Linked DNA regions of Homo sapiens: regions 2, 3, 4, 5, 6 and 7 are each linked to region 1. The links are contacts of gene promoters, found by promoter capture Hi-C in blood cells and fetal thymus (Javierre and others, 2016). All regions are on one chromosome and are shown on one strand. Each heading gives the region's core, a stretch centred on a gene start or on the middle of the fragment in contact. The rest is flanking DNA. Distances are from core to core; before and after follow the strand shown. Region 1 holds the start of CEMIP (cell migration inducing hyaluronidase 1). Region 2 overlaps ARNT2-DT (ARNT2 divergent transcript). Region 3 overlaps ARNT2 (aryl hydrocarbon receptor nuclear translocator 2). Region 4 overlaps ARNT2 (aryl hydrocarbon receptor nuclear translocator 2). Region 5 overlaps ARNT2 (aryl hydrocarbon receptor nuclear translocator 2). Region 6 overlaps ARNT2 (aryl hydrocarbon receptor nuclear translocator 2). Region 7 overlaps ARNT2 (aryl hydrocarbon receptor nuclear translocator 2).

Region 1 (3,249 bases), core at 376-2,875:
CTGCCGGCTCAGCTAGGACCTGGTCACAAACCACAGACTCCTGAGGGCTGGGCTGCCTCCTGAGTGGTAATACCGAGGGCCCCAGCGGACTCTCAGTCCCTTTCCTCTTTCCCAGCGCCCCAACGCCTTGGGTCTGGGAAGAAAGCGCACGACTTCCCCGGAGACCCAGGGCCACAGACCCCGAGTGGAGGAAGTGGCTGGGAGCTGTCCATGGTGGCGTCGCGCCTGGGCACGCAGAGCCGCCGGCTCCCCGCCCTCGGGCGCGCCCTGGATCACTTTCCAGACCGCAGGGATGGAGAGACGCGCTCCCCGGCTCACCGTCCCTGGTATGGGGCTGCAGCCAGGCACTGGCTCACACATCAGAAGATTAGTTTTTAAAGGGAGCTCTCACCTGTGGGTAGCGTTGGCTGCTTGGAGAAGGACTCAGGACCTCAAACCCGGCAGCTGGCGGAACTCCTGGGACTGCCGTAGCGTCCGACCCTTGGGGAACAGCGGCTGTCGCAGAGAGTGTCTGCGGCTGAGGACCCAGGGCGCACAGCGCTCCTCTCTCATGAGCACACGCATCCCTTGGGGTCCATTCCAGAATGTCACTGGCCTTCGTTCCCAGAGCGGCGAGCTGGAGACCTGGCCAGCGTTCTGCCAGGACTCTCTGCCTTTCCTCACAACCTAACGCGACCTTTCTTGGAGCCGACGTCCTTTGCCAGGGACCACCAGACCTTCTTCCAGCGATGCCACGTTTGGAGTCTCAGTCTAAACATCAGCAGAGCCCCCCGGGTTCATCTAACATTGCAATTGCCTCAGCTCGGCCCCGCGCCAGCGCGTCGCTGGGTGCCTAGCGCTGTCCCGGAGGCACTGGGAGGCGAGGGAAACTGGGAGGAAGAGCGTGCTGAGGCAGGAGCAGCAGGGCGCAGACCTGTTGCTAGGCGCACGCCCGCTAGAGCTCGGCGTGAGCTGGCTCCCAGTCGGCAGGACACCGAGACCTGACCCTTGTGGTACTCCCTCCTCGGCGAGACACTCTCCCGGGCGCAAGCCCCCGGTGCCATTCAGAAGGGGGAAAATCTACGGAAAGCAGGAGTCTGCCCCCTCTGGATGCCCTCTGGGGACTCCAGCGCCCCCCGGCACCTGCAGCTTGTAAAGCATCACAAGATCTCAGAGAAATCCCACAGAGGACAGTGCCAAGAGCGTGTGCCCATCAACAGACGCATGGACAAACAGACAGATAGAGGTAGACTGCACAGCACAGGGTGGACAGACAAACAGAAACTGAGGCGGGTAACGTTTACCCTGTGCCGGGTGGAGGCGCGGGCCCCCACTTCTTACCTCTCTTCCGTGGCATGGGCCGTCAGCTCATCCCTGACGCCCCCAGCCAGGCCCTCTTACCTCTGGGTCTGTAGCCGAGACAGTGTCACGCCTCGCGGGCCAGGAGCGCAGCGGCCCCGGACGTCTGGTCGCTGACCGCCAGGCGCCGCGAGCTCCCGGGGCGTGGGCAAGCGGAGTGGTAGCTAGTCTGGGAAATCTGGGTTCAGACCCTGGCCGCGCTCAGCCCCGCTGGCTCCCCGCGCCGCTTGCGCTCGCCAGGCTCTGTCCGATAGCACCGCGCTGGGCTCTGCTTGAGCGCTAGCTCCCCGGCCCTCAGCCGAGAGGCCGCTTTTATAGCCACTTTTACTGACTCCTCCCCCGAGGAGCCCCTGACGCCCGCGCGGCACCGAAGCTCCCTCCCTCGCCCCCCGATGAAACTTCCCTCCACGCGCCCCCGCCTTGCCCAAGTGGGGCGGGGGCCCTGTGCCCGGGCCGGACCGGGGCGGGCTCTGGCGGCGGCTCTGGGAGACGCAGACCTGAGCCCGCGGAGCCCGGGTGCGCAGAGTCCCGCCCGCAGCAGCCAGGTGAGGGCGCTGGAGGCCAGGACTCGGTGGAGCGGCCGCGGCGGACCGCGGAGAGCAAGTCCCCGGGCCTCCAAGGAGCCAGGGTCGCCCGTGCCCCGCTCGCGCCCCGGGGCGCCCTCCGAGGCAAAGAGGCAGTGGAGGACAGGAGAAAAGGTCTGCGCCTGCCACAGAATCGCCGCGAGTCGGGGTCCCAGGCTAAGTCTCAGGATCTCTTTTTAACTCAGCAGCAAAAGAGTAGCCCGAGAAAGAGATTTTGGTATTGGCCTAGCAGTTAATCCGAGAGGAAGATGCTTGGGTGTTCACTGAAAGGCACCTTGGTTTGAAACTGGATTCAGACATGCCAGTTACAACTGTGTACAGGATCTTAACCCCTCCCAGTCTCAGTTTCCTCATCAGGAAAATGGGTTCTGTGATGCTTCCTCACTAGAATGGTGAGGCTTAAATGAGATCAGGAAAGTCCAAGTTCTAAGCACATAATAGGTGCTTGGTAAGTTAGAAACATTCCCTGTGGGTAGGAGGGCTCTGTGCCTCTTTAACTGGACAGGCCAAAGTTCTGAAGGGTCAAAGCAAGAAGGTGCGGCTGGTCTAGACATTCCCTCGCGGGAGGAAACAGTACCAGTAGGAAAAGTTCATCACAACACATCCCTAGGGCATATGGAGTCTCCTCTCAACTCTGCCGCTAACCTACTGTGTGACCAGGGCCAGCTACTTCCCCTGTCTGAGCCTCAGGGTGGTTTTTTTGCAGGGAGGTGAGGAGTGTTTGTTTTTCTTGTTTTGTTTTAATCTGTAAAATGAGGGCGTTGATACCTGCTCTCTGCCTCTTCCACCTTTCAGAGTGTGACTCAGCCCCCTTTCCTGGTTAGCAGAGGCCTCCTAGAATATACATTTCTTTCTTCCTTCCTGCCAGTGTTCTCTGAGAACCAGCTCCTCAGGCAAGGTCTCCATTCTGTGTAGTACACACTAGCTCCGGGACTCTAGGTCTGGACTTTAAGGCCAGGCTGTGGTCGGCAGAAGCTGTGGAAGTCTGTGATCACATCTGGGCTGAAGCAGAAGCCTTTGTCACCTGGTTAAACTGGGAAGTCCTGCAATCCACCTCTAGGCCTCTTCCAGAAAGCGGAACTTGATCCTTACTGGGGGTGGTGGTCAGGATTCTCAGCCCTTCTTTGATTTATTGGGAAGTAATGAACTGGATCCAATGGCAAGCCCTCCTCCCCAACCTTTTCTTTCCAGCCGAATAAAATGGAGCCCCCCCGACCCAGGGCCCCTCTCCCCAGTCCTCACCATGATTCCTGTTTATGTTTTTCTTCCTTAAGGAGCTCCCAGAAACCAGACCCACAAAGAGTTGTGTGTTAGGGGTTTGGGGGTG
Region 2 (3,249 bases), core at 349-2,848, 380 kb after region 1:
ATACTGGACTGAAGATTTCTTAAGGAAAGTAAAAGAGGAGGCTCTCTTCACTCACTCCACATCAAAAAAGGTAAAACTCCATCTCAGATATTTCTGCTACCCAGAGTCCCTTCTGGATCCTTCTCCCCACAGGCAGTTCAATCTCTGGTGGCCCATAAATAGCCCATAAATAGCACTTGGCATCACTGCCCCCTATCCCACGAGGCTCTTTTATTCTCCAACTTTCCACACCCCTTAGAAGGAAGCAAGTTCCTCTCCTTGGTGTTTATGTATCAGTTTAGCATTTCAGCCAGGACCCATGGCTCATTTTGTCTCCAAATACAGTTCTAATATCATCCCTAAAAAATAAAATATGAGTGAACATGACTCTTACGCACACACACATTTAACCATACAAATTTGTTGACAAGTTTTACTTTCTTACTCTGCTGTTGTGTTCTGCCCATTTTTCTAAATGTTACTCGGCTGATATCTTTAAAACTGGATCTTGCTCAAGCTTCCTACTTCTTGCACTGGTCCATTGCAATAAAAGACAGGCGACACGTGGACAACTGCTAGACACTTCCCAAGTCTGGAGTCGGCCGTGCTGTGGTTTTTGGTACGTAATAAATACGTTTAGATTTTCACAAAGGAGACATTTCATCTTCTCCCCCAGTCAGTGTATTTCAGAGGTAGAAAGGACCTTCGACATCATCCAATTCTGCCCCTGGAGTTTGCAGATAAGGAAACTGAGGCTCAGGGTAGCCAACGTCATGCAGCTTAATAGCCAGACAAGACTTAGAACTGGGCTACGCACAATACTGGGATTTGGTGGCTGGAGTTGGGGAGCGGTTAGGGTGTAGGGGAAGAAATAGAGAAATGGGCAACTCGCCTTCTCTCTCGTCTCTCAGTATTAAATAGGTTAAATGCTCAGAAACACTGATTGTGGATGAAAGCCCCCCACTTAAGTAAACAATCTGAAATGGAGTGGTTAGTCATTGTTGAATACTGAGTGGCATTTACACAACACAGTGGTCTTGCGCTAATTATGAGAGTCAGTAGACTGTGACCAGTTAACACAGGCTCAGGAATTCCACTCAACCTTTAAACAACCCAGAACTCTTTGAAATTCCAGAGGAGGCTGTTGAATTTGAAGCTGAGATTTGCATTTTTGAAAAGATTAATGCAGATCCACCGGGCCCATAGCACACGATTCTGAGCACAGCGCTCCTAGAAATGACCAGAGTTGACCAGCTGCTGTGCTAATGTGTACCAGGGTCCACAGCCTTTCTTTCTTTCTTCTTTTTTTTTTTTTTTAACTTGATGGGAGAAAGCAGCCACCTGAGTTCTGCTTCATATCCCTTTAAGTCCTAATACTCGAGACAAAGGATTTCCATTGTATAATATATAATGATCCAAGGCAATTTTATCTTTTTTTTTTTTTTGAGACGGAGTTTCACTCTTGTTGCCCAGGCTGGAGTGCAATGGTGCAATCCTGGCTCCCCACAACCTCTGCCTCCCAGGTTCAAGCAATTCTCCTTCCTCAGCCTCCTGAGTAGCTGGATTACAGACATGCACCACCATATCCAGCTAATTTTGTATTTTTAGTAGAGACGGGGTTTCTCCATGTTGGTCAGGCTGGTCTCAAACTCCTGACCTCAGGTGATCCATCTGCCTTGGCCTCCCAAAGTGCTGGGATTACAGGCGTGAGCCACTGCACCCGGTTTTTTGTTTATTTGTTTTTGTTTTTTGTTTTGTTTTTTTTTTTTTAGATGGAGTCTCGCTTTGTCACCAGGCTAGAGTGCAATGGAGTGATCTCAGCTCACTGCAACCTCCAACTCCCTGGTTCAACCAATTCTCCTGCCTCAGCCTCCCAAGTAGCTGGGATTACAGGTGCACCCCCCACCAAACACTCCCAGCTAATTTTTGTATTTTTAGTAGAGATGGGATTTCACCATGTTGGCCAGGATGGTCTTGATCTTCTGACCTCGTGATCCGCCCACCTCGGCCTCCCAAAATGCTGGGATTACAGGCGTGAGCCACCATGCCTGGCTAATTTTATGTTCTTTTAACTTCACTTTAAGATATGAAGAAACCAGGAATGAACGCATGGGCTTCTGCAGAAGGAGAGGCATGGTAGGGCTGCCATGGATATAACCACAGGCTTTCTCTCCATTTATATGTCTCCTCTCAACCCTTCCTTCCTCCTCCATTCTTTCTAACTTCTCTCTCTCTCTTTGCTGGAGATAAAGGCTCATGGGTCTGTGTTATCCCCACTGCTACCTCCTTATCTTTATTTCTACACAGGTGACAACTGCCCACGGATTGTCTGTCCAGGCACTACCCCCAGCCCCCACCCCTGCCTTCTTCTCTATCAAGTCTCTCCTTTACACCAAGAATCATGGACTTATAACAGATCAAATGTGGATGAGATGTTAGTTTTATACAAAAAGGCATAAGCACCAGCCTTTGAAGCGAAAGTGTGGTGTAGGTTTTTGCTCTGTCACTTCATGAAACTTCTCTAAGTCTCACTTTCCTCACCTGGAAAATGGGGATGATGTTACCTACTGTGCTGAGTTTTGGTGAAGATGACATTGAAGGAAGTAATGTGTGTGCTGTATACACTTTAGAGACTTTAAAATGTATTGTGATAGTATTGCAGAGGGAAGAAGAAAAGTATGGCAAGTCTCTGTCCCACAGAGATAGGAAGGGGAAGCTTGTCGTGCTTTACCTTCATGGAGAGTGGAGAGAAGGAAGGAAGGAGGGTGGGAGGGGAAACAGGCAGTCAGACCCAGGTGCTCTAGTTTCCGTGGAAGGTATATCAAGGCAGCTGATGGAATAGCCAAAAGCAGAGGGGTTTCTGGCCACCACCCATGTGGGAGTCTTGGGGAAGATAACACACAGGGTGGTTCTGCAGGGATCGAAGGATGTAGCTGCAAAGCTGGGCTTTATATGGCACTCCTGGCTCCTCGTGGCTCTGTGAAGTATGCTAGGTGTCCCACAGGTGAGGAGACATGAAGGCATTGAGGGTCTAAATTAACAGATATCTGGGTGAGGACTAAAAGGCTATAGTAGGCAAGATTGAATGAACAAGGCCCCAAACCAAGGCCACAGATATCAGCTCTCAGTGTGAGTCTTCCTAAAGATACCTTAATTTTCACCAGCCAAATGACCATCCCAGCCCCTCAGAATGGAGGCGGGCAAGGCTCTAAGGCTCCCTTTTCTCCCACCACTCCCTCCTTGACCACCTAGACACCACCTTGAAGGGGA
Region 3 (3,249 bases), core at 417-2,916, 360 kb after region 1:
CTGAAACTCTAACTTACATAAGAAGGAGGAGGTCTCACCTCTCTGTCTCCCAGCCACTCTTTTATATTTTTGAACTCTGATTCTGTGCTGAATTCTCTGTAATTTCTTTCATTCTACTTTCTAAGTCATTAATTCTCTATTCATCTGTGTTGAGTAGCTATTTAATTCGTCCATGCTTTACTAATTCTGTTTATTTTTCAATGCTGTAATTTCCTGACACCCACTTGGACTAAAGGACTGCCAGCCAGCTGACTGCCTTCAACTGGACCCTGAAACCTGGTAATGAGTATCTCACTAGGAACCACAATTAAAAGAAGATCAGAGATTAGCTTCTAATTTTCCTGAGCTGCATAAGGCCCAAGGTGTCGTAAATACCCTAGGAAAAAGGTGCACCTTCCTCAAAACAAATGATGAGACTGAATGTTTAAACAGCCAAGCTGGAAGAAATAAGTTGGGTTTAATTTGATGGAGAAAATACAGCAATAAGATGGAGTTTGCACTCAGCTACCATCAGACAATTCATATAACCTATACAATGTCATTCGGTGCATTGTTTCAAAACTAGTGAACTATAGGTTAAAAATGACTTTCTTTGTACCATTAAGTACTTTTTAACATTTATTTTTATTGATTTTAATATTGTGATGACAGCTTTCCTTCCTTCCTTCTTTCTTTCCCTCCCTCCCTCCCTCCCTCCTTTCCTTCCTTTCTTTTCTTTCTATTTCAATAGCTTTAGGGGTACAACTGGTTTTTGGATACATGGATGAATTGTATAGTGAAGGCCGAAATTTTAGTGTACTTGTTGCCCAAGTAGTGTGCATTGTACTCAATATATAGTTTTTTAGCCGTCACTCCCTCCACCCTTCTGAGTCTCCAATGTCCATTATACTACCCTGTATGCCCCTGCACATCCATAGCTTAGCTCTCGCTTCTAAGTGAGAACATAAGGTATTTGGTTTTCCATTCCTGAGTTACTTCACTTAGAATAATGGCCTCCAGCTCCATCCAAGTTGCTCCAAAAGGCATTATTTTGTTATTTTTTATGGCTGAGTAGTATTCCATGGTGTATATATACCAAATTTTCTTTATCCACTCATCAGTTGACAGGTACTTAGGTTGGTTCCCTATCTTTGCAATTGTGAATTGTGCTGTAATAAACATGTGTGCATGTGCTGTTTTGACATAATGACTTCTTTTGCCTTTGGGTAGATACTCAGTAACTGCCAAACCTTTTGCAGTAGTCCCTTGTTATCTTTCACTTTCAGTTACCCAAGGTCCGTGCTTTCAGTTACCCAAGGTCAACCATCCCAGGAGTGATTACGTTCTTACCATCTCATCTCACTAACTCTTCTAAGGCAGGTAGTAAGCCACTTTTATTGGAATGAACATATGTACATATATATTCATTCTAATTCATTCATTCCAATATATATATTCATTCTAATAAAAATATATATTCACATATAATTCTTTTTATATGTCCATAATATATATTCATATGTTCATAATATATATATTCATATGTTCATAATATATATATTCATACAGATGCTCTCCACTTCTGATGGGGTTACATTTCAATAAACCCATCGTAAATTGAAAATATCTTCAGTCAAAAATGCATTTAATACACCTAACCTACCAAACACCCTAGCTTAGCCTACCTTAAACATGCTCAGAACACTTTCAGTATATATCCAATAAATTACATGAGACACTAAACACTTCATTATAAAATAGGCTTTGTGTCACATGATCTGGCCTGGCATCTTGGGAGAGTACTGTACCAAATATCAATAGTCCAGGAAAAGATCAAAATTCAGAATTTGAAGTACAGTTTCTACTGAATGCATATCACTTTGTAACCATCATAAAGTCAAAAATCTTAAGTGAAACCCTTGTAAGCTGGGGACCATCTGTATAGTCAATACATATATTCATATGTTCATAGGGTCTTTTTTTTAAACTAAAAAGAGGGGCTGATAGAAGAGGAGTTAAAAGACAGATCCAGAATGTGGGTTCTGGTGTGAGATGATAAAATGTGGAGAGAGGCTCAAAGACATACGTGGATGGCTGGTTGCATAGGGAGGTGCGGGTGCTGTGACCATTGGCAGCCTATCCTCCCATTGCCCCAGGCTCCCCAACTCAGACGGAGCCCACCACCATCTCCTCCAAGGCTCTTCAGGCTCCACCCCTTATCCTAAGACCCTCTGGTGAGAGCCTTACACTGCGTTCCAAAGCAAACTATGCCCTGCTGTTTAAGGCTGACCTGCTGCCAGGCACAGGAAAACCATTTGTGTTTATCTTCCAAATACCATGGAAATTCCCTAAGAACCGGCATGGTGTCTGTTCAGCTTTTTCTCCCGGGACTTTCCAGGACCCTGCCACATGAGAGGTGCTTTCATGCCAACCATTCACGTTATAGATAAGAAAACCAAAAGCCCAAAGAGAAAAGGTAGGGGTGTCCCAGGGCACCATGCCATGTCAATGCCAGGACTGGGCCACTGATTCCTCTTCCTACCCTCTCACGCTGCTGGATGCCTAGTTAACACCTCTGGTTCATTTCTCTTCAGCACAGTCCACTCATTAATTATCTTCCCTTCTCCCTCCAGATCACCCAGGGAAAGCCAGTGTGACAGTGGAAAGAAGGTACACTTGGGATCAGGCAAATCCGTGTGTTAGGATCAGCCTTTCAAGGCTCAGTTCGACCACCTTTATTTCCTCACCTGTGAAATGGGCGATTGAGCCCAGCCATCCTGAACCAGGTGAGTTAGCTGGCATTGGATAGTACTGGCTTAGTGCAGCCCCTGCCTCAGTGGACCTGAAGGGGATCTGGGCCAGCAGTACCAGCATCACTGGAACTTGTTAGAAATGCCGATCTCACCCCAGCCCACTCCCACCCCTGAACGACTGACTCCAAAACTGAGATGGGGCAGCACTTTGTGTTTTTACAAGCCCTCCTGGTGATCCCTGGGTCAAGTTTGCAAATCACTGAGGTACCTATTTGACCACGCCATCTAGTGGCAGACAGACCTAACAGATCCTGCGTTCTAGAAAATGGTTTGTTTCCAGTGCTGGAATATTCAGCTTGGAGGACTCCGAAAGACGCTCCCCTCAAGAAGCCTCTAAATGCATGAAGGCACAGACTCTGTCATTCTTTCCACCCAGTGTATTCCCAGCACCTAAGCACCGTGAGGAATGAAGGGCAGATATTTAATAAATATTTATTGAATGAATGAATGAGGACAA
Region 4 (3,249 bases), core at 253-2,752, 340 kb after region 1:
TGCAACGCTCTTGTCTAGATCTCTGCTCAGATCCCTGATCATAACCGATGGCAAATGCACAAATAGACAGAAATATCTGTATTCGCAGCAGTCTGACTCCAAATGCAAATATCCCCTCAGGAAATTGTTTCCCATTACACACAGAGGGGAAATGACTGTCTGCTCTTAGGCAAAGTTGGAATGAGGTTTGGAGCTCATTTAAAAATCAGTACAAGCTAAAGATTTTGTAAGGTTCACCGTAACACAGAAAACATATCTGGCTTATAATGCAGCATCTAGCTACAGACTATTTCACATTTCAGATGCAGACGTACTGTGTAGAATTCCTATAATACAGTGTAGGCAGCGAAAACCTGGAAAAAACGTGGAACTTGAGAGCATTACAGATGAAAGGAACAGGAGGAAATGGAAAAAAAGACATCTTGCTCTCCCTACATTTCATGTGAATCCAAGTAAGAAAAATATCCCCTGATCTTTACATTGGGAAAAAATCAATTACATGCAAACTTTCACAACATGACAACACACAATATTTTAATGGCCATTCAAATAAATGAAAAACCAAAAGGCTCTTTCCATGGCTGGGAGGGGGGTGAGGGCAGGCAACTAACCAAAGAAAAACGCTCTTCTCAATATTCATCTCTCTTAGAACAATTCTCTTCACAGAAAGCACATCAAATATCACAGCCCTACCTTTTCAGAGGGATTAAACAAAGATCTTTCTTCCTTGTGACCAACACCTTCTTAGGAGAATCTGTTATCCGTGTAGAAGAAATGTCAGAAACCTCTGGGAGGAAATGTAGCTGCATTTGTATTCTGCTGAGAAAATGTCATCACAGATCTGTTTACCTTAACTGTGGACCATGATTCAGCCGTGACAACTGTCTTGCATACTGATCAATTTATTTGCAGCAAAATTTCTAGCATTAACTGCTTAGGTTCTGAAAAATCGGTTACTTGGATTTCCTATGAAACCATAACAAATGCATATTTGAAAAATCTAGATTCTTATCCAAACATTTTAGTGAGAGATAATAAAGGATTTTTCTTGAAGTCCAAGCAAGGGAGGGTCCCTCTTACTTCTGGAATGAAGACAGGGCACATGATTCCCAAAGGGCCTCCATGGGGTAGCATTTTTATAGCACAATGTACAGAAAATCATTAGACTGAGAATCAGAGAACTCTGACTGCAGATCCATGCTCGGCTTTAACCAGCCGTGAGATCCTCTGTAAGACATTCTTTTCTGATCAGCAGGCTGGGCCAAGGTCTCTGCAATAGAGAAGAGGATGGCCACTGGACCTGGGAAAGCAAGAAGAGGCCAGGTCCTGTCTCCTCTGGCTGGTGCTTCCAGCCTGGATACCGAGCCCTGGATGCCTGCCTGAGCCCCTTCTAGTAGGCAGGCAGGTTTTGGCATTAGGGAATTGAAACCAGTCCCAAGGCAGCCCGGGGAGATGCCCTCCCACCTCAGCTAACAGTGCTGGCTCAGGTAGAGCTCTGGCTCTCCTCTGGAACAGGGGCACTGCACTACAGCACACTATGGTGTCACTCCCCATGTTCCCACTAGTGTCCGAACCCACTAACTCCAGCTTCCTTCTCCACCCTGTGGGCTGAAGTCCTGTAATCTCTGTGCTGAAATTTGTAAAAGGAGTAAAAATAAAACAGACCCAGCAAGAAGATGGGTAACCAGTAATTCCAATGGAAGAAAAGTGGAGAGGCTGCTGTCAAGGATATGATTCTGGAGCAAGACAACAAGGATGAGTGACCCATTCAACCTGCCCCACTCTGTGCGAGATGACCCCACAGGTCTAACTGCAATGAGACATCCACCCATGACTTGTCTCATGCTTGAGTCAAACCTAGAAGCCGCAGACCATCAGAAGAAAGTGTGTGTCATCAATCACACAGAAGCCAGCCCAGAACATCTAGGTTGGAAGGATTGGTGTCCGTCAGTGAACTGAATGTCCCTAATGAGGTCTTAGAAGGAGTCTCAGCCAAAACCTAGACTCTGGCCTACCAAGACCTGAGTCTAGGGAATCAGGAGCCCTGTGCAGTAAGACAGACCCTGAAGGAGAAAGTGCAAGGCATGGGTTGCTGGTGGAAGAGTACACAGGAGGGTTCAAAGCTCTGATTCTCCACATTCAAAAATACGAGAAAGAACCATGGGATGGTGAAGGGTTCACTGAGGAGGACCTGCTAGTGAGACACAACTTGTTGGCCTGGAGAGTCCTTGAGGCAGAAGGAGGGATAAAACTGTCTTCAGATACCTGAGGGACCTTCCTGTATAAAAGGGAAGAGGCCAGTTCTCAATGACTGCAGAGACCTCTTCACAGTGGCTGAGGATATGAAAGGTAGGGGAAAGAAATGAATGACCAAGATGCATGTTGACTGTCCAAAGGCAGTTGGAAGTTGAACAGAAACCAAATGAACTAACAAGTCTGACATAAAGAGAAAAGCTCATAACTTATGGAATACTCCCAGATAAAAATTACTTAACCTTTAAATATCATGATTTCAAAGATAATGTTATAGGAAAATGCTAAGAGTAAGTTAATGGAGCAGGATACAGAATCATATATGCAAACATATTTATCAGGGACCCATCAAAGTTCAGCTTCAGCTACACTATTTGCCCAAAACCTATTATTTGGCCATGGCTTCTAAATGAATGCCTTGGCCTTTGAAAGGACAAACAGTCAAATACCTATTGCAAGATCATTTCTGGCATCCCTGAACTTGTGCATGATCAATGGCCTTACGATACTCAGGTCACCACCATCTCTACGTCTACAGCATAACAACATCAATACTACAAATAAGCCATGCCACATGAACTTATTGCTCAAGTCCGCATGTTCACTTTCAAATGTAAATCTGCATTCTAGATGTACTCAGATTAAAAAGCTCCTTGTATGTATGATGTATTTTGAACTCTCCCAGTCAGATGGTGTATAAATATAAATATTATTGCAAGAATGAAATGTGCAGTAATCTTTGACCATATGGTAAAAGCTATTAATTTTATATGCAAAATTTGTGTGCAAATCAATTATCAAGAACTTTAACAAATAGTTACATTTAATAGGAAGTGAGGAAATAATACAAATATTAAGAGACAACACTTTGGGAGGCCGAGATGGGCGGATCACGAGGTCACGAGTTCGAGACCAGTCTGGCCAACACAGTGAAACCCCGTATCTACTAAAAATACAAAAAATTAGCCAGGCGTGGTGGCGTGTGCCTATAATCCT
Region 5 (3,249 bases), core at 543-3,042, 320 kb after region 1:
TTGGGATGTGGTGGAGCGGGCCTGAGAACATTTATGGCACTGGCAGGCGGGATCCTGGAATGCCTATGCACGTATGGGCGTGTGCATGTGCGTGCTTGTGTGTGCACCTGAGGTCACACAGCAGTGGCAGCTTCACATCTACTACTTTGTTGCATCTAAGGCCTGCTGTGATGGGCCTGGCTGTGCTAAAGTAGGAACCATATCAAATTCCTATAATTGAGCTGCTTTGTGACTGTGACCACACTTCCCAAATCAAAAATTGAGACATGAGGTCTCATGATAGGCAGGACATTTAAACTGGGAAGCCCCCTTGCAAAAAGCTGGAAAAGCTGATGGCACACACACAGGAGACAGAAACCATGGCACAGCACCCTGCCTAGATTCTGAGTCAGCAAACTACGGTGGGTGCTGGCTCACAAGGCAGCCTCTATCTCTTCCAGGGCCTCACATGAAGGGGCTTCTGTTGCCTGATTGTAAGAAGAGAAAAAGCCAACAGGAGAGGCACTGGGGTGTTCCATGCCAATTGGAAGCAGATTCTCCACTCCTCCCCTGGACAGCAGCCACAGTCACTGCAAAGTGGAGGGATGAGGGTGGACTCAGTCGTCTCTCCCAGTGCTGAGAAGCTCAGATGCAACCATGGGCCCATTCACTGAGGGCCCAGCAGCTAAGCCTAGGTGACCTCTGGGCCTCTGCGGTCCTACAAACTCATTCCTATTAGTAACAGCATATGCTGGAAACACATCCTATCTTCCTTATTTTTCATGGGGGAAATGATATGGTTCACAGATGCCTGGGTTTGAACCTTGACTGTATAAAAACGGACTCACAGACACGGTCATGAGATAGTTACCCAGAGTGTAGAGTTTCTGTTTCTTAATGATCGGGCCTAATACAATGAGCTCTTTGTACCCCTGCACTATTATTTCATCACTGACACTGATCTTTTCAATGTCAAACAAACGTCACTCCTCATCTCTCTTCCTCTTTATGTTTTGAGGCCCCAGGAATCATCATTTCCTAAGGTTAGCATGCTATGGAATGTTATCTCAAGGGGAATTTTGACACGGAGGAACCAAAGTCATTGTTCCTTCATAGAGGGAGGCTGTGTACAGCGAGAGCAAACTGGGGCAGGGAGATATGTGCCCTTGTTTCCATTTCAGCAAGAAAGCACACCCTGCTATTAAAGTGTATCCCAAGAAATGGGTGGATGTCCAAGCTGCCATTCTGTCTGCACCGAGGGAAAACAATACATGCTTTTGTTATTGAAACTCATGTCCTGTTTTGATTCGAAACTCCAAGGTCATTAGTGACCAAAATGTTCTCCATCTCCTCTCTACTGTTTCAACCAAAGCAGAAGCTGAAAGACGGAAGGAAAAGATTTTGGGGACGAAAGTGTATGGCATGATGCGAGTTTACTATGGACTTGGAGACTCTGGGAATCCCTGGGAAGTAAGGAGATGCATGTCCCTGTTGGACTGGTGGAAAAGTGTGTGGAACTCACAATCGCAATGCAGTTTGTAAAAGGAATCATCACCAAAAATGGCTACCATGAGGGGAGAAAACTAGGGTAACTCAGGGGGCCCAGAACTCAATATGCATGTGGTTCCTCCAAAAACAACTGAGGCCATCAGTCCAAACTATGGAGCATGGATACAGAAGAAAAGCAACCGTCACCCATGGCAAGTTTTCAAGTCCATCAATGACCAAGAATTAGGAAGGCTTGGAGGCTTGGCTAGTGGAGAGGAATGTCAAGGCAGGCCCTTCCTTAGGTAAGTGGGTACAGATGTGAATTTTGCTAAGAATGATGGAATGATTTGTGCCTTCCTGTCAACACTGCCAAACTTCCTACCATATCTTAAACAAAATGGAAAAAAAAAAAAGACACAGTCATGGGGTTGGGCCTGCCTTATCCTTCACGTATGCAATGTGTATAACCCATGGACATTCATGATCCAGCAAACTTTCCATGAGGTGGTCTGCACTCAGGACGGCCCCGCAGAGCCCAGATAAAGATGCTGTCACGTGGCCAGGGGGCAATACAGTTCTTAGGAGCTGAAAACCCAGTTTTCTATCCTGCATCCAGAACACAGCTGCCTGGTTTCTCATATCTCTTCTTATTTTCCATGGTAGCAATAAAAGACTTATCTTGACAGTTTTTTCTAAACTTGAACTCTAGGGCTTTTCAGGAAGAATGAATTCCTCTGTTTGCTTTATAAGCAATGAATATTAATTTTAATAGATTCCTTTTTAAAAGACATAGGAATTTTTAAAAATACTTTTTAAAAAGCCCTATTGTCTTTTTAAAATGAATCCTTAAAATTGACATTAATTTCTTATAAAGCAAACAGAGTTAATAACTTATTACTTACCTTTTGATCATCTCTGCTGGGATGTGGCAGGGTCGCTAATAGCTAGCTGCCACTGGGCCAAATACTGCCACAGAGTGAGGGACCAGTCAAACTGCAGGCAATGGCTTTTGCAATGACAAAAGACGTTACATTCTTGTATCTTTCTAAGGTGAATGCTGGCTATTGCCTTCTTTAAGTCTAAGGAAAATAAAATAAACTTACCTTGAAAATTTACTGGGGCCTTCACCATCTTCATCATCGAAGTCCATTCTGAAAAGTCAAGATCACAAGTGAGCACTGATTATTAGGAGAACATTTTAACTGGTAACAGGAGCTGCTGGAACAAAAGGAGCTTTATTCACTAGGACTGCTATCCATTGATCCCAACCTTTGGCAGTGCTACAAGCAATATCTCTACACAGTCATCAAACGGGTTCAAGACAAGAAGAGGCAAAATGAAAGGTCTTCAGTCTAAGCACCACTAATTCTATGGCTGGGAATATTTAAGTATCAACTAGTCCCCTCCAGAACTCTATATGCCATTCCCTTCTTAGAACTCTTAGCAGACAATGGATTGCTCTGGCTATGATGGAAAGGTGTCTCTTCCTTTTCTCTCACCATCTTTGGGAATACCTGCACCCCTCTGCATCACCTATTCCACATTAAGACTTTTTTCTTAGTTTATCTTGTGGTATATTAAGAGCCTAAAAAGGCTCACGGGATTTTGAAAACAGAAGTTTTCAGGGTGAAGGGATCACAAGGGAAAGAGAAATACTACCGGTTGTACTGCTTAAAAATGTGGCTGGTCTTGATGAGTCAAAGTGAAAAGGACATTTAAGACTTTGCCCTATTAAATCCAGGACCACAAACATGGCTGTTGAGGGGAAAATGGCTGTTTGGG
Region 6 (3,249 bases), core at 206-2,705, 300 kb after region 1:
GGAAAAAATTTAATTCAACAAAGAACTCCACCATCACCCTCACCCCAGATGCTGAAACTCTTTGACAGCATATTGATTTTCTGGGGTCCCTGAGCCAACATGGGAGTCTGCAGGCCCCAGTGAAGTCAGGTTTCTTGTCCCCTCCCCTGTGCACATGCAAACCTCCACACATTCAGTACAGGTGACCCTGCAGGTCCAACGAATGAGACATTGAATCACCACTGAGAGAGGCTCAGAGGAGGGAAACTCCACTGGGAAAGGAGGTCAGGCTGCCCTAGTTAAGCCACCTCCACTCCAGCAGGCCTTGCCTGGCTCCCTGCCTCGCCTCAACACCCTTCCACCCTGACTCTCCCAAAGTGGACCATGTCACCTCTTTCCAGGCCTAAAACCACATGAGTCAAGGGACAGGAGGGTTTGAGAGACTCTAGTCCAATAATTGAAGGCATTAAACCACACCTGAGGCCTTTTAATACAATTTTAAAATTATGCTTGGGCTGGTTACATATGAAACCCACTCCAGTCCTGTCCTGAGCACCAGGAAAACCCTAAGGCCTGTCTGAGTAGCAGCCCAGTTTCAGAGAGCTCTTCCAAGCTCTCCCCCACGGAATCAATAAGAGCTTGTTGCATGTTCTAGGAAAGTCGCATCACACCCTATGACTGCAAAAGAGACCCTGTCCTCTCTTCCACCCTAAGAATAAGAACCCACTTCTCCAGCCTCATCTTGTTCCTGACAAGACGGGCTTGGCCCATAGGCAAACTCAGAGACCTGGCTCTTCACCTTTCACAGGGCCTTCTCTGGCATCTTGGAGGACACCCTCCACTGTACTGGTTCTGGCTGCCTTGGCCACAGTCCAGTGTCCACTCCGAGGACATTTCTGTCCAAATGTGGTTCACATCGCCTGTTTAAACTCTCCCAGACACATTCAGACTTCACATGGACAGAAATGTCCACCCAACTATGATGAACCAGCTGGCTACACCCTTGGCCAGAGCCTGACCTGCCTTGACCATCGCTTCCCTGGCAGCTTCCCCAGCTGGGTCTCCAGACTGGGTTTCCAAAAGCCACATCCTGTGGTCACATATAGAAGTCTGGGAAAGACAGCACTTTCCAGAGAAGGTGATTTCAGCTGTCAAACCAACATTTCCTGGTTGGTTGGTTTTCCCCTTTTACATTCCTCCCAAATATTTAACTTTATAAGGTGTGTCCCTTAGGATTTCTATATGGAGTTTGCTAATTCAGGCAGGAGAATGGGGTAGCAGAAAGAGTCTTTCTGAGCCTATTTCAGCATCGCTGTTTTACAAGAACATCAAAGCTTACTGCCAGGAGAAAAAGACACTGTCTTTACACCTTAATTCTCTATCCTCTTCCTCCTTTTTTACATCTTTGATCACCAGCACTGAGAAAATTACTAATATCCTTCCAAAACAGCTGTACACTTCTCACTTTTAGCAACATCAAACTCACTCTTATCATAAGTGTTATTATAGGTGGAATTGTGTTCCCCGCTAAAATTAGTATGTTAAAGTCTTAATCCCCAGTACCCCAGAATGTGACTGTATTTGGGAGACAGGACTTTTAAAGAGATTGTTAAGCTTAAATGAGATCATATGGGTGAGCCCTAATTTAGTGACTGGTGTCCTCATAAGAAGAGGCAGAGACACAAAAGATTCGTGCACACAGAGGAGAGACCTACACTTAGGCTGGTTATAATTCTTGTGAGAATGCAAGAAGGTGGCCATCTCCAAATCAAGGAGAAGGGCCTTAGGGGACAACAAACCTGATGATATACTGATCTTGAATGCAATGGACTAAATGCTTACGCTCTCCCCAAATTCGTACGCTGAAATTCTAATCTCCCAGATGATGATATTAGGACATGGGGCCTTTAGGAGGTGATTAGGTACTGTTATAAAACAGATCCCAGATAGATAGCTAGTCCCTTCCACCATGTGAGGACACAGCTAGAAGGCAACATCTAGAAAGTAGGCCCTTGCCAGACATCAAGGTGCCTTGATCTTGGACTTCCCAGCCTCTAGAACTCTGACTGTATTAGTCTGTTCTCCCATTGTATAAACAAATACCTGAGACTGGGTAATTCACAAAGAAAAGAGGTTTAATTGGCTCACCATTCTGCAGGCTGTACAAAAAGCATGATGCTGATATCTGCTTGGCCTCTGAGGAGGCCTCAGGAAACTTACAATCATGGCGGAAGGTGAAGGGAAGCAGGTGTCTTACATGGCAGAAGCAGGAACTCTTAAGAGAGAGAGTGGGAAGGTACTACACACAACCAGATCTTGTGAGAACTCACTCACTATCACGAGAGCAGGACCAAGAGGATGGTACTAAACCATTCAGGCGAACCCACCCCCATGATCCAATCACCTCCCATCAGGGCCTGCCCCCAACATTGGGAATTACAATTGAACATGACATTTGGGTGAGGACACAGATCTAAACCATATCAGTGAGAAATGAATTTCTGTTACATAAAAGCTATTCGGTTTATTGTATTTTGTTATAGCAGCCCAAATGGATTAGGACACTGAATGCCCAGCCTCCAGAACTATGAGAAAATACATTTCTGTTATTTAAGTAACCCATTCTGTGGTATTTTGTTATGGCATCCTAGGCTGACCACAATAAACAACACACTCACTAATTCATCAGGCTTCTGCTGAAGGCCTACTATGGGCAAAGCACTGAGTTTAGCACTGTGGGCAGACACAAAAGCAAGTGGGAATACAACAGCTCACAATATGGTCAGGGAGAATGACAACACAAATATATCTGTCATAGAGCAGAATGCAAATATTTTGGTATAATGCTTCTATAACTCTTGTTTCAACAATGCAAATTTGTTCCAATGTGATTGACATATTAAGGAACAATCTGAGCATAATGTGAATGTTGTGTTTGCTTATCTGTAAGAAAAACTAGATGAACATAGAAAGGTTGTGCCTAGCTGAACCGGGCCACACGGAAATACACAAAATTCACATACCTCAGACATCAGTCAGCTCTCTCGGCCCACGGTGTGTTATTAGCCACACTCATCCACATTTGGAGTTAAAACTCTCCGTCTGATTTCACATGACTGTCCTCCTACCATTTCGCAATAACATACAAATGACCACACCTTCTGAGACCACCTCTTAAGCAAACTTTAGGTCATTTTCAAACTCAACTGCCATATGTGTGGTAAGATGTATACATTTCTTAACCACTTAATGTTAAAGCTGTGCTACCAT
Region 7 (3,249 bases), core at 313-2,812, 280 kb after region 1:
AAATTACAAAGTGCAAGCTGCAGTACTAAGCAAAGTGGCTCACAGAGTAGGGGAAGCAAGACACCATTCCTACTTAACGATGAAACCAACTCAGCTGGTACTCGAGGAGATGTCTGCACAAAATGCAAAGGCAGCACAGAGCAGACAGAGAGAGTGCTTCATGTTGGAGAGAGCAGACTGGGTCAGGGAAAGCTTCCTCCCAGAGGAGGTGCTAAAGGAGCCTCAGAGAGATGGAGCTGCAAGGGATAGGATGCCCCAAGTAAAGGGCTCAGAGCAAGGTGTGGGGAAAGTGGAAGGAGGGGTCTGAGAATAGTACAAAGTCCTGTTTGGCTGGAGCTCCACAGGGAGAGGGGCTGGAGAGGTGGGCTGGGGCCCAACCCCAGGGCACAGAGCCCTAGGAAGGCATGAGCAAAAGCAAACAGAGGAGTCAAGCTCTCAAAATGATTCTGCTATCTGTCACACAGGCAGAAAAGCCAGAGACTTGAGAAACATGCTTCTGACAAACCCTCCAGCCCTTCATGCTGTTGGCAATGAATATTGAGCATGCTTTGCAAAGGCCACATTCCCTTCTAAAAGCAAAACTTCTACCTCCCGGAACTGCCTAGGAAAATTCATATGATTTGCAGTTTAAATATACGAATATCAATAATTTAGATTTTAGGAGCAAAAAACCTGTAAGATTAGCATTCATATCCAACATTCAGGAAAAGAGAGACACCTCAACTTGGAACCTGAGTGTCCAGCCATGTCGGGAGAGCTCCTGTGTACACAAAGAGTGTACTGGGAAGAATGAAGAGTTGGCAGCAACAATAATGTTCACTGAGCAGAATGGGCTCCTGCTGACCCACAGAGGGAAACTGTTTTCAGATAGTAAGAATAGGCTTTTGGGAACCATCCCCCTCTGGGCCCTCTTGCGTTCCTGAGCAAGGAAGATGGCGGCTGGGGTTTGGGTTAGAACTCAGATTAGAATCAGTGGCCATGGAATAAGGAGACAAAAAAAAGGCTTACAGGGGTGGGGGTGCCTGATTAGGTCTGGCAAAAGGGACTTAGCATTGCGACTAATAGGCCCTGCAGACACTCAGAAGAGCCTTTCCGCCAAGCAGTCTGTTTGCATGTCAATCCCTTTGTCCCTCTACTGTACCATCTGGGGAAGGTGCTAATGAGACTAACTAGGCAAGGAGCAGGCAGCAGGATGGCACAAGGAGGGCAGCAAAACTCTGCAGAGAATATCCAAGAGATCATCATCTCATGAGCAATGAAAAGACCAAGACTGGCACATTTGGGGTCAGTCCATACCAACGGGCAGAGAACTCCAACATGAATGGCAGGCCATACCACCTCTCCCACCTCGACAACTGGGCTCTCGTGGCTCTCTGAAAAGCCTGAGAACTTCACAGCTTTTTCTGCATTCACATTCTCAACATGATGTGGGATCATGGGCCACCGCCTGCTGTGGCCTGCTGCTCTGCTATTCATTATAAAATCATCACCCCACAGTCCTCCCATGGCCGGCACCTCTTCTGCTATTTAATCTGTAGACAAAAGTACAAATTCTTCATCCTGTTTAGAATATGCTGAAGTGTGATTTAAAGAAATACATTCCTCTTGGGGTATCATGCTACAAAAATGCCAGAAATGCAAGCCTGAGGGGTTTAATTTTAACGGTAAATGATTAACCCTCCTTGGCTGTGGAAAGGCAGCCCAGTATATGCCAGGAGACCAGGCTGACATGGAGTTCAAGAAGGCAATTTCAAGTCGTGCCTTCCCTCCTTCGCAGTTTGCTAATGAAATGATTTTAAAAATACAAAAATAGCAGGAAAAATCTGCATTCATGAAGAAAAACAGTAAAAGGGGCCTTAAAATAGAGAGATATTGAAATATTTCTGCAAAAAACAGCACAGCACACCTGGGATGGTCTGGAAATGAGTATGAGCAGCTCATGTGTCTTAGTTCATTTTGTGTTGCTATAAAGGAACACCCGAGGCTGAGTAATTTGCAAAGAAAAGAAGTTTATTGGGTTCATGGTTCTGCAAGCTGTATAAGAAGCATGGTGCCAGCATCTGCTTCTGGTGAGGACTCCAGGAAGCATCATGGCAGAAGCAAAGAGGGAGCAGGAGTGTCACATGGCAAGAAAAGGAGCAAGACAGAGAGAGAAGGAGGGGTGCCATGCTCTTTTAAACAAACAGCTCTCAGGTGAACCAAAAGAGTGAGAACTTACTCATTTCCACAGGGAGGGCACCAGGCCATTAGTGAGGGATCTGCCCTCATGATCCGAATATCTCCCACCAGGCCCCATCTCCAACATTAGGGATCAAATTTCAACATGAGATTTGGAGGGGACAACCATTCCAACTATATCATCATGGTTCAACCAATATGAGGAAACAAACTGCCTGGGAAGAAAGTGAAAGAGTTCCCTACTAGAAGTTTCCAAACTCCAAGCAGGAGAGAGAGAACAGGAAATCAGGAAGCAGAAGACAAGTGACCTAGGGTATAATCACAGTGAGGCCAGAGGCAGAGCCCCCTCATATCACCCTGACTTAAAGCAAACAACCTGCCACATAAAGAGGAAGAAAAGCTGCCACAGCCTGCTTCTGAGAGGCAGCATTTCATGTAAAGGAGTGGGCATGGCCCTACTAACTTCAGGTAATGGTGACCAAGGTACAGGGCTGCCTCGGCTGCAGCTCCCAGATAGCTGTACACAATTCAGGAAAAATCAGAACAAATCCCCCACCCCCACCCCCCGCCACTTGCTGTGGTTTGAATGTGTCCTCCAAAGCTCATGTATTGGAAACTTAATCCCCAATGCAAGAGTGTTGTGAGGTAAGACCTTTAAGAGGTGATCAAGTCATAAGGCCTCAGGAGGGCAGAGCCCTCATGAATAGTTTAATGTCATGATTGTAGGGATGGGTTTGTTATAAAAGCAAGCTTGGCCCTTCTTGCTTTCCGCTCTCTGTCTCGTTCTCTCTTGCTTTTGCTCTCTCAGTCTTTTGCCTTCCACCATGGGATGACACAGCACGAGGGCCCCTGCCAGATGTCAGAACCATGGTCTTGGACTTCCCAGTTTCCAGAACTGTAAGCCAAATAAGTTTCTGTTCATTATAAATTAATCAGTCTGTGGTATTCTGTTATAGCAGCAGTAAACAGATTAAGACACCAAGAAACAGAAAGAACACAATATGTTGAAACATTAAGTCTCAGCAATATTTGAGAAAATCTTTCATAATAAAAAGAAAATAACCTCGGACC

The links. Contacts are between HindIII fragments. The CHiCAGO score rates a contact against its expected background, and 5 or more counts as called.
Region 2: a contact is called between a fragment that was not itself captured here and the fragment with the promoter of CEMIP in region 1, in 1 of 17 cell types (M2 macrophages). The highest score is 5.0, in M2 macrophages.
Region 3: a fragment that was not itself captured here is called in contact with the fragment with the promoter of CEMIP in region 1 in 3 of 17 cell types (M0 macrophages, M1 macrophages and M2 macrophages); the score reaches 6.8 in M0 macrophages.
Region 4: a contact is called between a fragment that was not itself captured here and the fragment with the promoter of CEMIP in region 1, in 5 of 17 cell types (M1 macrophages, M0 macrophages, monocytes and 2 more). The highest score is 9.8, in M1 macrophages.
Region 5: a contact is called between a fragment that was not itself captured here and the fragment with the promoter of CEMIP in region 1, in 16 of 17 cell types (M0 macrophages, total CD8 T cells, M1 macrophages and 13 more). The highest score is 21.1, in M0 macrophages.
Region 6: a fragment that was not itself captured here is called in contact with the fragment with the promoter of CEMIP in region 1 in 5 of 17 cell types (M1 macrophages, megakaryocytes, M0 macrophages and 2 more); the score reaches 10.5 in M1 macrophages.
Region 7: a fragment that was not itself captured here is called in contact with the fragment with the promoter of CEMIP in region 1 in 2 of 17 cell types (M1 macrophages and endothelial precursors); the score reaches 6.1 in M1 macrophages.

What each region holds. Positions count from the first base shown.
Region 1 is chr15:80,777,746-80,780,994 of GRCh38, reverse strand. It overlaps CEMIP (cell migration inducing hyaluronidase 1), which reads right to left and starts at 1,625. Exons shown (of 30, transcript NM_001293298.2): 1 at 1,381-1,625. RefSeq lists an enhancer at 598-1,103 and a silencer at 1,724-2,003. The HindIII fragment of the contact is 7,653 bases long and covers 1-3,249 here.
Region 2 is chr15:80,399,480-80,402,728 of GRCh38, reverse strand. The region is part of intron 2 of ARNT2-DT (ARNT2 divergent transcript); the gene reads left to right. Among named protein-coding and RNA genes, the nearest start is that of ARNT2-DT, 3.1 kb to the left of the region's middle. The HindIII fragment of the contact is 2,199 bases long and covers 499-2,697 here.
Region 3 is chr15:80,418,868-80,422,116 of GRCh38, reverse strand. The region is part of intron 1 of ARNT2 (aryl hydrocarbon receptor nuclear translocator 2); the gene reads right to left. Among named protein-coding and RNA genes, the nearest start is that of ARNT2, 16 kb to the right of the region's middle. The HindIII fragment of the contact is 6,550 bases long and covers 1-3,249 here.
Region 4 is chr15:80,438,823-80,442,071 of GRCh38, reverse strand. All of the region lies in intron 1 of ARNT2 (aryl hydrocarbon receptor nuclear translocator 2), which reads right to left. Among named protein-coding and RNA genes, the nearest start is that of ARNT2, 36 kb to the right of the region's middle. The HindIII fragment of the contact is 7,419 bases long and covers 1-3,249 here.
Region 5 is chr15:80,457,298-80,460,546 of GRCh38, reverse strand. ARNT2 (aryl hydrocarbon receptor nuclear translocator 2) reads right to left here. Exons shown (of 19, transcript NM_014862.4): 3 at 2,571-2,618. Among named protein-coding and RNA genes, the nearest start is that of ARNT2, 55 kb to the right of the region's middle. The HindIII fragment of the contact is 8,174 bases long and covers 1-3,249 here.
Region 6 is chr15:80,476,056-80,479,304 of GRCh38, reverse strand. All of the region lies in intron 5 of ARNT2 (aryl hydrocarbon receptor nuclear translocator 2), which reads right to left. Among named protein-coding and RNA genes, the nearest start is that of ARNT2, 73 kb to the right of the region's middle. The HindIII fragment of the contact is 280 bases long and covers 1,316-1,595 here.
Region 7 is chr15:80,492,848-80,496,096 of GRCh38, reverse strand. The region is part of intron 5 of ARNT2 (aryl hydrocarbon receptor nuclear translocator 2); the gene reads right to left. LOC124903537 (a long non-coding RNA gene) reads right to left here. Exons shown (of 2, transcript XR_007064731.1): 2 at 1,990-3,249. Among named protein-coding and RNA genes, the nearest start is that of ARNT2-AS3, 68 kb to the left of the region's middle. The HindIII fragment of the contact is 2,736 bases long and covers 195-2,930 here.